3 separate regions of the Homo sapiens genome follow, and regions 1 and 3 are each linked to region 2. Evidence: promoter capture Hi-C in 16 types of primary human blood cells and fetal thymus (Javierre and others, 2016). All regions are on one chromosome and are shown on one strand. The core of a region is centred on a gene start or on the middle of the fragment in contact, and the rest is flanking DNA. Distances in the headings are between cores, read along the strand shown. Region 1 holds the start of CENPH (centromere protein H). Region 2 holds the start of OCLN (occludin). Region 3 overlaps CENPH (centromere protein H).

The links. The method cuts DNA at HindIII sites, captures the fragments that hold promoters and counts their contacts. A CHiCAGO score of 5 or more calls a contact.
Region 1: a contact is called between the fragment with the promoter of CENPH here and the fragment with the promoter of OCLN in region 2, in 2 of 17 cell types (neutrophils and erythroblasts). The highest score is 10.5, in neutrophils.
Region 3: a fragment that was not itself captured here is called in contact with the fragment with the promoter of OCLN in region 2 in 1 of 17 cell types (neutrophils); the score reaches 5.4 in neutrophils.

What each region holds. Positions count from the first base shown.
Region 1 is chr5:69,187,801-69,190,968 of GRCh38, forward strand. It overlaps CENPH (centromere protein H), which reads left to right and starts at 1,783. Exons shown (of 9, transcript NM_022909.4): 1 at 1,783-1,968. The coding sequence starts at 1,835. It overlaps LOC112267932 (a long non-coding RNA gene), which reads right to left and starts at 1,677. Exons shown (of 2, transcript XR_002956215.2): 1 at 1,191-1,677. RefSeq lists enhancers at 1,395-1,634, 1,562-1,856 and a silencer at 1,715-1,834. The HindIII fragment of the contact is 12,435 bases long and covers 1-2,357 here.
Region 2 is chr5:69,491,514-69,494,862 of GRCh38, forward strand. It overlaps OCLN (occludin), which reads left to right and starts at 1,277. Exons shown (of 9, transcript NM_001205254.2): 1 at 1,277-1,387. The HindIII fragment of the contact is 10,406 bases long and covers 1-1,627 here.
Region 3 is chr5:69,204,940-69,208,036 of GRCh38, forward strand. All of the region lies in intron 7 of CENPH (centromere protein H), which reads left to right. Among named protein-coding and RNA genes, the nearest start is that of KGD4, 11 kb to the right of the region's middle. The HindIII fragment of the contact is 3,917 bases long and covers 1-3,097 here.

The sequences.
Region 1 (3,168 bases), core at 533-3,032, 300 kb before region 2:
GGTCACTGCAGTCCTCAACGGCTGGGGCCCAAGTGATCCTCCCATCTCAGCCTCCTGAGTAGCTGGGACCACAGGTCTAAGTCACCACACCTGTTGTTTTTTTGTTTGTTTGTTTGTTTTTGTTTTAAGTAGAAACGAGGTCTCACTATGCTGCCCAGGCTGTTCTCCTGACTTCAAGCGATCCTTCCGCTTTGGCTTCCCAAAGTGCTGGGATTACAGGCGTGGGCCATCGCCACCAGTCCATTCTGTGTCTTTTGAACTGTTTTTTTGTTTGTTTGTTTGTTTTTCGAGAAGGAATCTTGCTCTGTTGCCCAGGCTGGCGTGCATCTCTGGTGTGATCTCGGCTCACTGCAACCTCTGCTTCCCGGGATCAAAGGATTCTCCTGCCTCGGCCTCCCCAGTAGCTGGGATTACAGGTGCCCACCACCACGCCTGGCTAATTTTGTATTTTTAGTAGAGACGAGGTTTCTCCATGTTGGTCAGGCTGGTCTCCAACTCCTGACCTCGAGATCCTCCCCCCTCGGCTTCCCAAAGTGCTGGGATTATAGGTGTGAGCCACAGCGCCCGGCTTTTTTTTTTTTTTTTGAGACGGAGTTTCACTCTGTCACCCAGGCTGAAGTGCAGTGGCGCGATCTCAGCTCACTGCAACCTCCGCCCCCCCGGGTTCAAACGATTCTCCTGCCTCAGCCTCCTGAGTAGCTGGGATTACAGGCGCCCGCCACCACACGCAGCTAACTTTTGTATTTTTAGTAGAGACGGGGTTTCACCATGTTGGCCAGGCTGGTCTTGAATTCCTGACTTCAGGTGATCCACCCGCCTCAGCCCCCAAAGTGCTGGGAGTACAGGGGTGAGCCACCACGCCCAGCGAATTTAACTTTTGTCAGGAGCCGTATTACATTGACAATGGAGAGGAAGAAAACAGCACAGTATGATCAAGTTTAACTAGTGGGTAATTAGCTGTAAAAGAACTCTCGACTCTTGTTCAAAGAGGTTCAAGCTGCTGTGCTTGTGCGGCAAGGACAGTGTCCAAATGAAAAACTACAAATCAGTCATCTGTCCTTCATTTTCTCCATTCCCCCCACTCACTACACAGCTAAGAAAGCTCAAAGGTACCCTGCAGACACTCAAAACTTGAGGGCACGCAACTCTCAGTTACGAGTGGTGGCAATCATAATGACAGAATGAAGTACCAGTGCAAGAAACTGGAAGCGTGTGGATGTCTCCAGGCTGGAAGTCTGGGTTCGAAATGTCTGCAATGCCTCGCACTTGTGGCCCGTCCCTGATCTTCAGAAGCCACTGGTTTCTCCGCCAAACAAAGGGTATGCACCTCATGGGCTCAGGTCAAAAAAGTCTTCTAAACAACCCTCTAATGTTTATCTTTCACAGCCTGCCGGGCACACCCATCTTCAAAGGCAGAGGACGGAAAAGTGCCAAGATGGATGGACATATGGCTGTCGCCGCACTCCCGTGTCCAAGCGCCAAGGCCGAATGACCACTTAGGTCAGGAGATTTTTCCCCTCCAGGCTGCTGTTCCCGGGAGATGTCCCAACGTCTCTAGTCCAGCCCCTAACTCAGCACTCTACACATCCGACGCTTAACGAAAGCTATTCCAACTTTTTACCAGCCGTCTGCAGTTATTTTCACCAGTAGAGCCCGGATGAAAGAGGAGCCCGTAGTAACCACGGCAACCGAAAAACAAGGCGGAAAGGGTGGGGCCCTGGGCGGAAGGGGCGGGGCCCTCGGGCCTTTTCCCGGCGTCCATTTAGTGGCGGGAAAAGCGACCTTTTCTGAGCGCGTTTGCCTGTTGAGTGGTAGCCTTTCCCCTCAACCAGCAATGGAGGAGCAGCCCCAGATGCAAGACGCCGACGAGCCCGCGGACTCCGGAGGGGAAGGCCGGGCAGGCGGGCCACCGCAGGTCGCCGGCGCCCAGGCGGCGTGCAGCGAGGACCGCATGACCCTGCTCCTCAGGTTGTTCCCTTTGGCCTCCTCAGCCGGGGCCAAGTGGGCGTTGTGGCCCGGAACTCCGCCCTTGCTCAGAAGGGCTAGGGTTCGAATTCACGCTCGGTCACGTCAGGTCTCCGTGATTGCCTCATTCACTTAAACTGTTGAAGCTCTTTCTTCATCAGCGAAAAGGAGAGAAAAATGACCCCCTGGAGAGAGGTTACAAGGGTTAAATGAGATAGTCTAGGAAAGTGTTGAGCACAGTGCCCCGGGCCCTTAGAAGCTGTAATTTCTCCTCCTGTTTCCCCGCCCTCCCCCTACCTCTCTGGTTTACAGACAAATTGAATGCCAGAGCTAAACTGGAAGGAAGGTGCCCCTACCATTTCTTTTAGAACTACGACCCTTTGTAACCCAGAAGCTTTATATGTTATAAATTCTACTAAGCGGACGGTGTTTATACTTTTCCACTAAGCGGTTGCTGGGGAAGATTCGATGAGAAGGGACATTCGTCTTCTAAACTAGTGAGCAGGAGAAGGTCCTGGGCCAAATCTGCCTAACTGCCTATTTTTGTGTGACCACTCAAGCTAAGAATAGTTTTTATGTTTAAGTGTTGCAGGGAAAAGATCATAAAAATATTTCATAACACGTGAACTCTATTAGAAATTCAAGTTTCAGTTTCCATAAACAGTTTTATTGGAGTACAACTTTCCTGCCACAAGGGTGGAATTGAGTAGCTAAAACAGAGACCGTGTGACTCACAAACCCTAAAAAATTTACTATCAGGTCCTTTACAGAAAAAAATTTGCGGTCCTCTGTTCTATATCATAACAGAGGTAGTTTTAAAAAAATCATTATTGGCTGAGCGCGGTGGCTCACGCCTGTAATCCCAACACTTTGGGATGCCGAGGCAGACGGATCACCTTAAGTCAGGAGTTCAAGACCAGCCTGGCCAACCATGGCCAACATGGTGAAACCCCGTCTCTACTAAAAATACAAAAATTAGCTGGGCGTGGTGGCGGGCGCCTGTAATCCCAGCTACTCAGGAGGCTGAGGCAAGAGAATTGATTGAACCCGGGAGGCAGAGGTTGCAGTGAGCAGAAGATTGTGCCATTGCACTCCAGCCTGGGCAATAGAGCAAGACTCTTGACTCAAAAAAAAAAAATTAATTACCATTTTTTTCTTTCTTAAATGTTTTGAAAAATGAAAAGATGTCTATTTCTTTTTTAT
Region 2 (3,349 bases), core at 27-2,526:
AGAAATTTATTAGCAATGCTGACATTCCAGATTGGAACACAAAGACAAGCAGGATGTAAGAAACCTAAAAGTTCGCTTTCAATGCAGATAGTTAAATGCCAAGAACTATAATTGCCACATCCTGGAGTACAATTAAAAAATATGTTGAAAAACAACCAACATACATAAAAATATACACAGTGTTAAGTGCAGACTATGAAATTTCCCTTGGAAACAGAATCCAGATCAAGAAATAGAATACAGCACCCGGAACTAAGGTGCTTTTTCGTTTTCTTAAAAAAAAAAAAAAAGTAAACCAAGTTTATTTTGCTTTTTAAGTAGTGTTGTTCTTAAAGCACTACAGGTTGGTAAACAACGTATAAGGTGCTTTTTCTCAGGCCAAAGAGCCATAATAGTTTAAATTTCCCGGTCCTCAAGAGCGGACCGGGTGGGCAGGAGAGGACCCTGGGGTGGTGATGTGTAAACTGTATTATGCACTTTAGCCTGCTGGATGGCAACTAACACCTACAGTAGTTCACCCTCATTTTAACCCCTCTAAGTAATTGTCTCTTATTCTGAATCTAGAGATTCAGAAACAGCGCCAATGTTTACACACGACTTTTGAAATTTTCCCAGGAGTCTTTCGTTGGAGCAATACATCTAGATGCCTTTTTCCAGCAACAGTTTAATCAAATTCTGGAAGCAGAAAAGTGTCCTGTGAGGACGTGCCTTTCCTATCAAAGTGCTGAGTGCCTGGACCCTCTTTCCGGAGGAAACAGTCCCCTCTGGACCTCGTTCGGCCTCTCTCCATCAGACACCCCAAGGTTCCATCCGAAGCAGGCGGAGCACCGAACGCACCCCGGGGTGGTCAGGGACCCCCATCCGTGCTGCCCCCTAGGAGCCCGCGCCTCTCCTCTGCGCCCCGCCTCTCGGGCCGCAACGTCGCGCGGTTCCTTTAACAGCGCGCTGGCAGGGTGTGGGAAGCAGGACCGCGTCCTCCCGCCCCCTCCCATCCGAGTTTCAGGTGAATTGGTCACCGAGGGAGGAGGCCGACACACCACACCTACACTCCCGCGTCCACCTCTCCCTCCCTGCTTCCTCTGGCGGAGGCGGCAGGAACCGAGAGCCAGGTCCAGAGCGCCGAGGAGCCGGTCTAGGACGCAGCAGGTGGGACTCGCGGCGCTGGCCCGCAGGCTTCCCGCACCCCCTTCCACGTTGGTGCGCATGCCCGGGGGCAGGGCCGGTTGTAGGGAGGAGGGAAAGGAGAGGGAGAAGGGGGAGGAGACGTCCCCAGCCCAGTCCCCGGCTGAGCGCTGGCGGTCGGTGCGGCGTCAGGTGCGCCCGCCAGGTGAGCGCGCTCCCTGGCACCGTTGGCCCCCGGAGGGTCGGGCCCAGTTGCGGCGAGCGGGTGAGTGTTGGGCGCGGCGTCAGGGGCGCACGGGAGCCCGAGGGTCCCCGTGGGGGGACCGCGGCGACTATGTTAGGGGAGGTGCCGGGGGGAGGACGCTCCGCGCTGGTTTCGGTGGCAGTTTCGTCCCCGAGCTGGGACTCGTGGGAACCAGAGAGGCGCGGGTCTGCGGAGAGAGCAGCACCGGCCAACTTGGGAGGCTGCCTCCTGGGGCGAGGGGTGGCTTGGAGCCGCCGATCAAGCTTTATTCCGCGGAAACGCTGAAAGCTAGCAGTGCCTCAGCGGCGCGGGCAACTTTTCACTTTTATGGGGCACGACATTCCTGAACAGCGACGATCCTGCATCCGCTCTGGGGCTGCAGTTTGGGGGGGCGGCCTTCATGGAGAGGGATCCTGCGCCCAGCTCCTTGGGGGTCCTAAGCCTGAGGCTGCAGCGAGGCGGCTGTTCGGCGGCCCGGGCGGCTTAGATCCCGGGGGGAATTTCATTCCTTCCGCTCCCACCCCACCCCTTTGGATATCCCGGGGAGACGGGGGCTGGATTCAATCTGTGAAATATTCCAGGAGTCACGGTGTGGGCCACACTGGCTACTTCGAATCCACTTGTTGCGAGTTGTGTGAACCCGCGTCGATTTAAGCTGGGGGGCGGGGAGTTAATTTCGAGTGAGGCTGGACTTCGAGGGAAGCTGCTCACGCTTCGGATTCTCATCCGTGACCAAAAGGGCTGCCCCCAGGGGGGCGGAACTGCCTCCGGGCGGTGCCTGCCCGGCGAACGTGGGCGCGCGCTGCCTGGGAGCGCCTCGGTGCGCACGGAAGCCGGGACCCGCGCCCAGCCGGGCCACGGAGTTTGGGGACCTCCGGGACTGGGCCGGCCCCGCGCGCCAGCCATGTTGCCTGCGTCGGAGGAAGCGTGCGGGGAGCAGGGGTCGAGGGCCAAGATGGCCTCTGCGCCTAGGGGTTGGGAGCGGCGCCGAGCCCCTCGCGCTCCTCGGGAAGCCACCGGGCCCGAGGGAAAAGCCGCGGCATCCTTAGGCCGGACCCGGGGCTCGCTGGCCACACTGCCCGCTTGGGGAATTACCCTGCTCGAGGAGGAGGCGGCGGCTTTCCAGGCCAGTCAGTGTGTGGCCCTTAGGCAACAGGTGTATTATTGGGATACCTGGAAAAGAGAAACGTTTCCCATGAAGGCACTTATGGTGTTTTTTGGTGATTCTTGGTGTGATAGAAAACTAGGCGTTCCCAAGTGTAACAATAGTAACAGTAGTTCTTTTGCACTGTACATATGAGGTGCTTGTGTGTGTGTGTGTGTGTGTTTTTCCGAGACGGAGTCTGGCTCTGTCCCCCAGTGCAGTGGCATCATCTGGGCTCACTGCAACCTCTGCCTCCCGGGTTCAAGCGATTCTCCTGCTCAGCCTCCCGAATAGCTGGGATTACAGGCACCCACTAGTATGCACAGCTAATTTTTGTATTTTTAGTAGAGACAGGGTTTTGCCATTTGGTCAGGCTGGTCTCGAACTCCTGACCTCAGGTGATTCGCCCGCCTTGGCCTCCCAAAGTGCTGGGATTACAGGCGTAAGCCACCACACCCAGCCTTTATGAATATTTTCTTAGTGGTGCTTTAAAATAGACATCTTAAGTGTGTGTGGGAGGCAGAGATATTTCCTCAAACAAAGCAACACTTTTTTTTTGGTCGTTTTGCAATTTATTTAGTTATTAGGGGCCTCCTTTGTTAGGTGACGGAGCAGAGGATAGGGAGATCGGTAAGACATGATTCTCCACCTTTTGGCAGTTTCCAGGCCATTTCGGGAAATAGTGGGCAGCAGTGCCTCCTGCACGTGAGGCACTGTGGTAAAAGCATTCTGTATTTTCTCATTTAATTATCCCAACAACTCTAAAAGGCAGGCCTTAGTAGAACTCCATTTTAAAAGTGGGCAAATGCCGTGGGGGAAACGTTGCAGGTGGGCTTGCT
Region 3 (3,097 bases), core at 58-2,557, 290 kb before region 2:
ATGGAGTCTCCCTCTGTCGCCCAGGCTGGAGTGCAGTGGTGCGATCTCAGCTCATGGCAATCTCCACCTCCTGGATTCAAGTGATTCTCCGGTCTCAGCCTTCTGAGTAGCTGGGACTACAGGCACCCGCCACCACGCCCAGCTAATTTTTTGTATTTTTAGTAGAGACGGTGTTTCACCATGTTAGCCAGGATGGTCTTGATCTCCTGACCTCGTGATCCACCCACCTCAGCCTCCCAAAGTGCTGGGATTACAGGCATGAGCCACCTCGCCTGGCCAACCTTTTTTTGTTTGTTTGTTTTTGTTTTGAAATAGTTTCGCTCTGTTGTCCAAGCTGGAGTGCAGTGGCGCGATCTTGGCTCTCTGCAACCTCTGTCTCCTGGATTCAAGCCATTCTTCTGCGTCAGCCTCTCGAGTAGCTGGGATTACAGGCGTGCCACCACGCCTGGCTAATTTTTGTATTTTTAGTAGATACAGGGTTTCACCATGTTGTCCAGGCTGGTCTCGAACTCCTCACCTCAAAGTGTTCTCCCCGCCTCTGCCTCCCAAAGTGCTGGGATTATAGGCGTAAGCCACTGTGACCGGCCTTTTTGTTTTTTGAGACAGGGTCTTGTTCTGTTACTCAGGCTGGAGGCACACTCATGGCTCACTACAGCCTCAACTTCCTGGACTCGAGCAATCCTTTCACCTCAGCATCCCTGATAGTTGGGACTACAGGTGCATGCCACCATGCCTGGCTAATTGTTTTTTTTCTGTAGATATCTTTTTTTTTTTTTTTTTTTTTTTTGAGACGGAGTCTCGCTCTGTCGCCCAGGCTGGAGTGCAGTGGCACTATCTCAGCTCACTGCAAGCTCCACCTCCCGGGTTCACACCATTCTTCTGCCTCAGCCTCCTGAGTAGCTGGGACTACAGGCACCCGCCACCACGCCCGGCTAATTTTTTTGTATTTTTAGTAGAGACCGGATTTCACCATATTAGCTAGGATGGTCTCCATCTCCTGACCTCGTGATCCGCCCTCCTCGACCACCCAAAGTGCTGGGATTACAGGCATGAGCCACCATGCCCGGCCTTTTTTTCTGTAGATTTCTTAAATTTATTTTTCTATAGAGACAGGATTCATTCACCATGTTACACAGGCTGGTATAGAACTCCTGGGCTCAAGTGATCTGCCCACCTTGGCCTCCCAAAGTGCTAAGATTACAGACGGGATCCTGTGATCCACTGTGCCTGGCCAGATTTGTTGGTTGGGTTTTTTTTTTTTATACGGAATTTCTCTCTTGTTGCCCAGGCTGGAGTGCAATGGCGTGATCTCGGCTCACTGCACCTCCGCCTCTCAGGTTCAAGCGATTCTCCTGCCTCAGCCTCCCGAGTAGCTGGGATTACAAGCGCCCGCCACCACTCCCAGCTAATTTTGTCTTTTTAGTAGAGACGGGGTTTCTCCACATTGGTCCGGCTGGTCTCGAACTCCCTACCTCAGGTTATCCACCCACCTCGGCCTCCCAAAGTGCTGGGATTATACGCATGAGCCACCGTGCCCAGCCGGTGTTTTGTTTGTTTGTTTTTATTGAGATGGAGTTTCGCTCTTGTCACCCAGGCTGGAGTGCAATGGCGTGATCTCGGCTCACTACAACCCCTGTCTCCCAGGTTCAAGCAGTTCTCCTACCTCAGCCTCTTGAGTAGCTGGGATTACATGGGATTACAGGCGCCTGCCACCATGCCCCACTGATTTATATTTTTAGTAGAGACGGGTTTCATCATGTTGGCCAGGTTGGTCTCCAACTCCTGACCTCAGGTGATCCACCCTCCTCAGCCTCCCACAGTGCTGATAACAGGCATGAGTCACTGCACCCTGCTCAGATTTGTCATTTGTAAACATTATATAGATTTGCCTGTTAGCAAATAATCTCAGGGTCATTAGTAGTATTGGTCATCTTGTCTATTCCCCCATGTTTTTTTAAGTAGAATCAGGGTCTTGCTATGTTTCCCAGGGTGGTCTCGAACTTCTGGCAATCTTCCTGCCTCAGCCTTCCAAAGTGTTGGAATTATAAGAATGAGCCACCCATGCTCAGGCTATACCCTTTTGATGATTCATTTTCTCCACTGCATTCCAACCTCCTTTAATATACATTAATGTTGAAGAACAGGCCCCTGAAATACATCCATTTATATTTCCAAGTAGTTTAATTCTTAGACTATTTCCAGTAATACAAAAAATGATTGATGATGTTTATCCCTGGAGAGGGGAATCTTACTTTTTTTTTTTTCCTGAGACAGAGTTTCACTCTTGTTGCCCAGGCTGGAGTGCAATGGTGCAATCTCAGCTTACTGCAACCTCTGCCTCTGGGTTCAAGTGATTCTCCTGCCTCAGCCTCCTGAGTAGCTGGGATTATAGGCACATGTCACCATGCCCAGCTAATTTTTGTATTTTTCATAGAGATGGGGTTTCGCCATGTTGGCGGGGCTGGTCTCGAACTCCTGACCTCAGGTGATCCGCCCACCTCGGCCTCCCAAAGTGCTGGGATTACAGGTGTGAGCCACCGTGCCTGGCCAAATAAGATTAATTTTAAATGAAAAGTAAGATTCCTTGGCCGGGCGCGGTGGCTCACGCCTGTAATCTCAGCACTTTGGGAGGCCGAGGCGGGTGGATCACTGGAGGTCAGGAGTTGGAGACTAGCCCAGCCAACGTGGCAAAACCCCTATCTATACTAAAAATGCAAACATTAGCCAGGTGTGGTGGTGGGCGCCTGTAATCCCAGCTATTCAGGACGCTGAGGCAGGAGAATCACTTGAACCCCTGGGAGGCGGAGGCTGCAGTGAGCCGAGATTGTACCACTGCACTCCAGCCTAGGCAACAGTGAGACTCCATCTCAAAAAATAATAATAAAATAAATGTTTATATGTTTCATTTTTGTAATTTAAGAGGGAAAAATATATGTATTTCCTACCTATTTTGGCAACCCAAAATAAGCCCTCATTACATGATGCCACTTGAAACATCTGTAGACAGCTGTTATTGTCATACAGAAATACCTGGAACATTTCACTAAGGGCATTGCTAAGTACGAAATTAAAATATTGTTATTTTGCACCAGGGAAG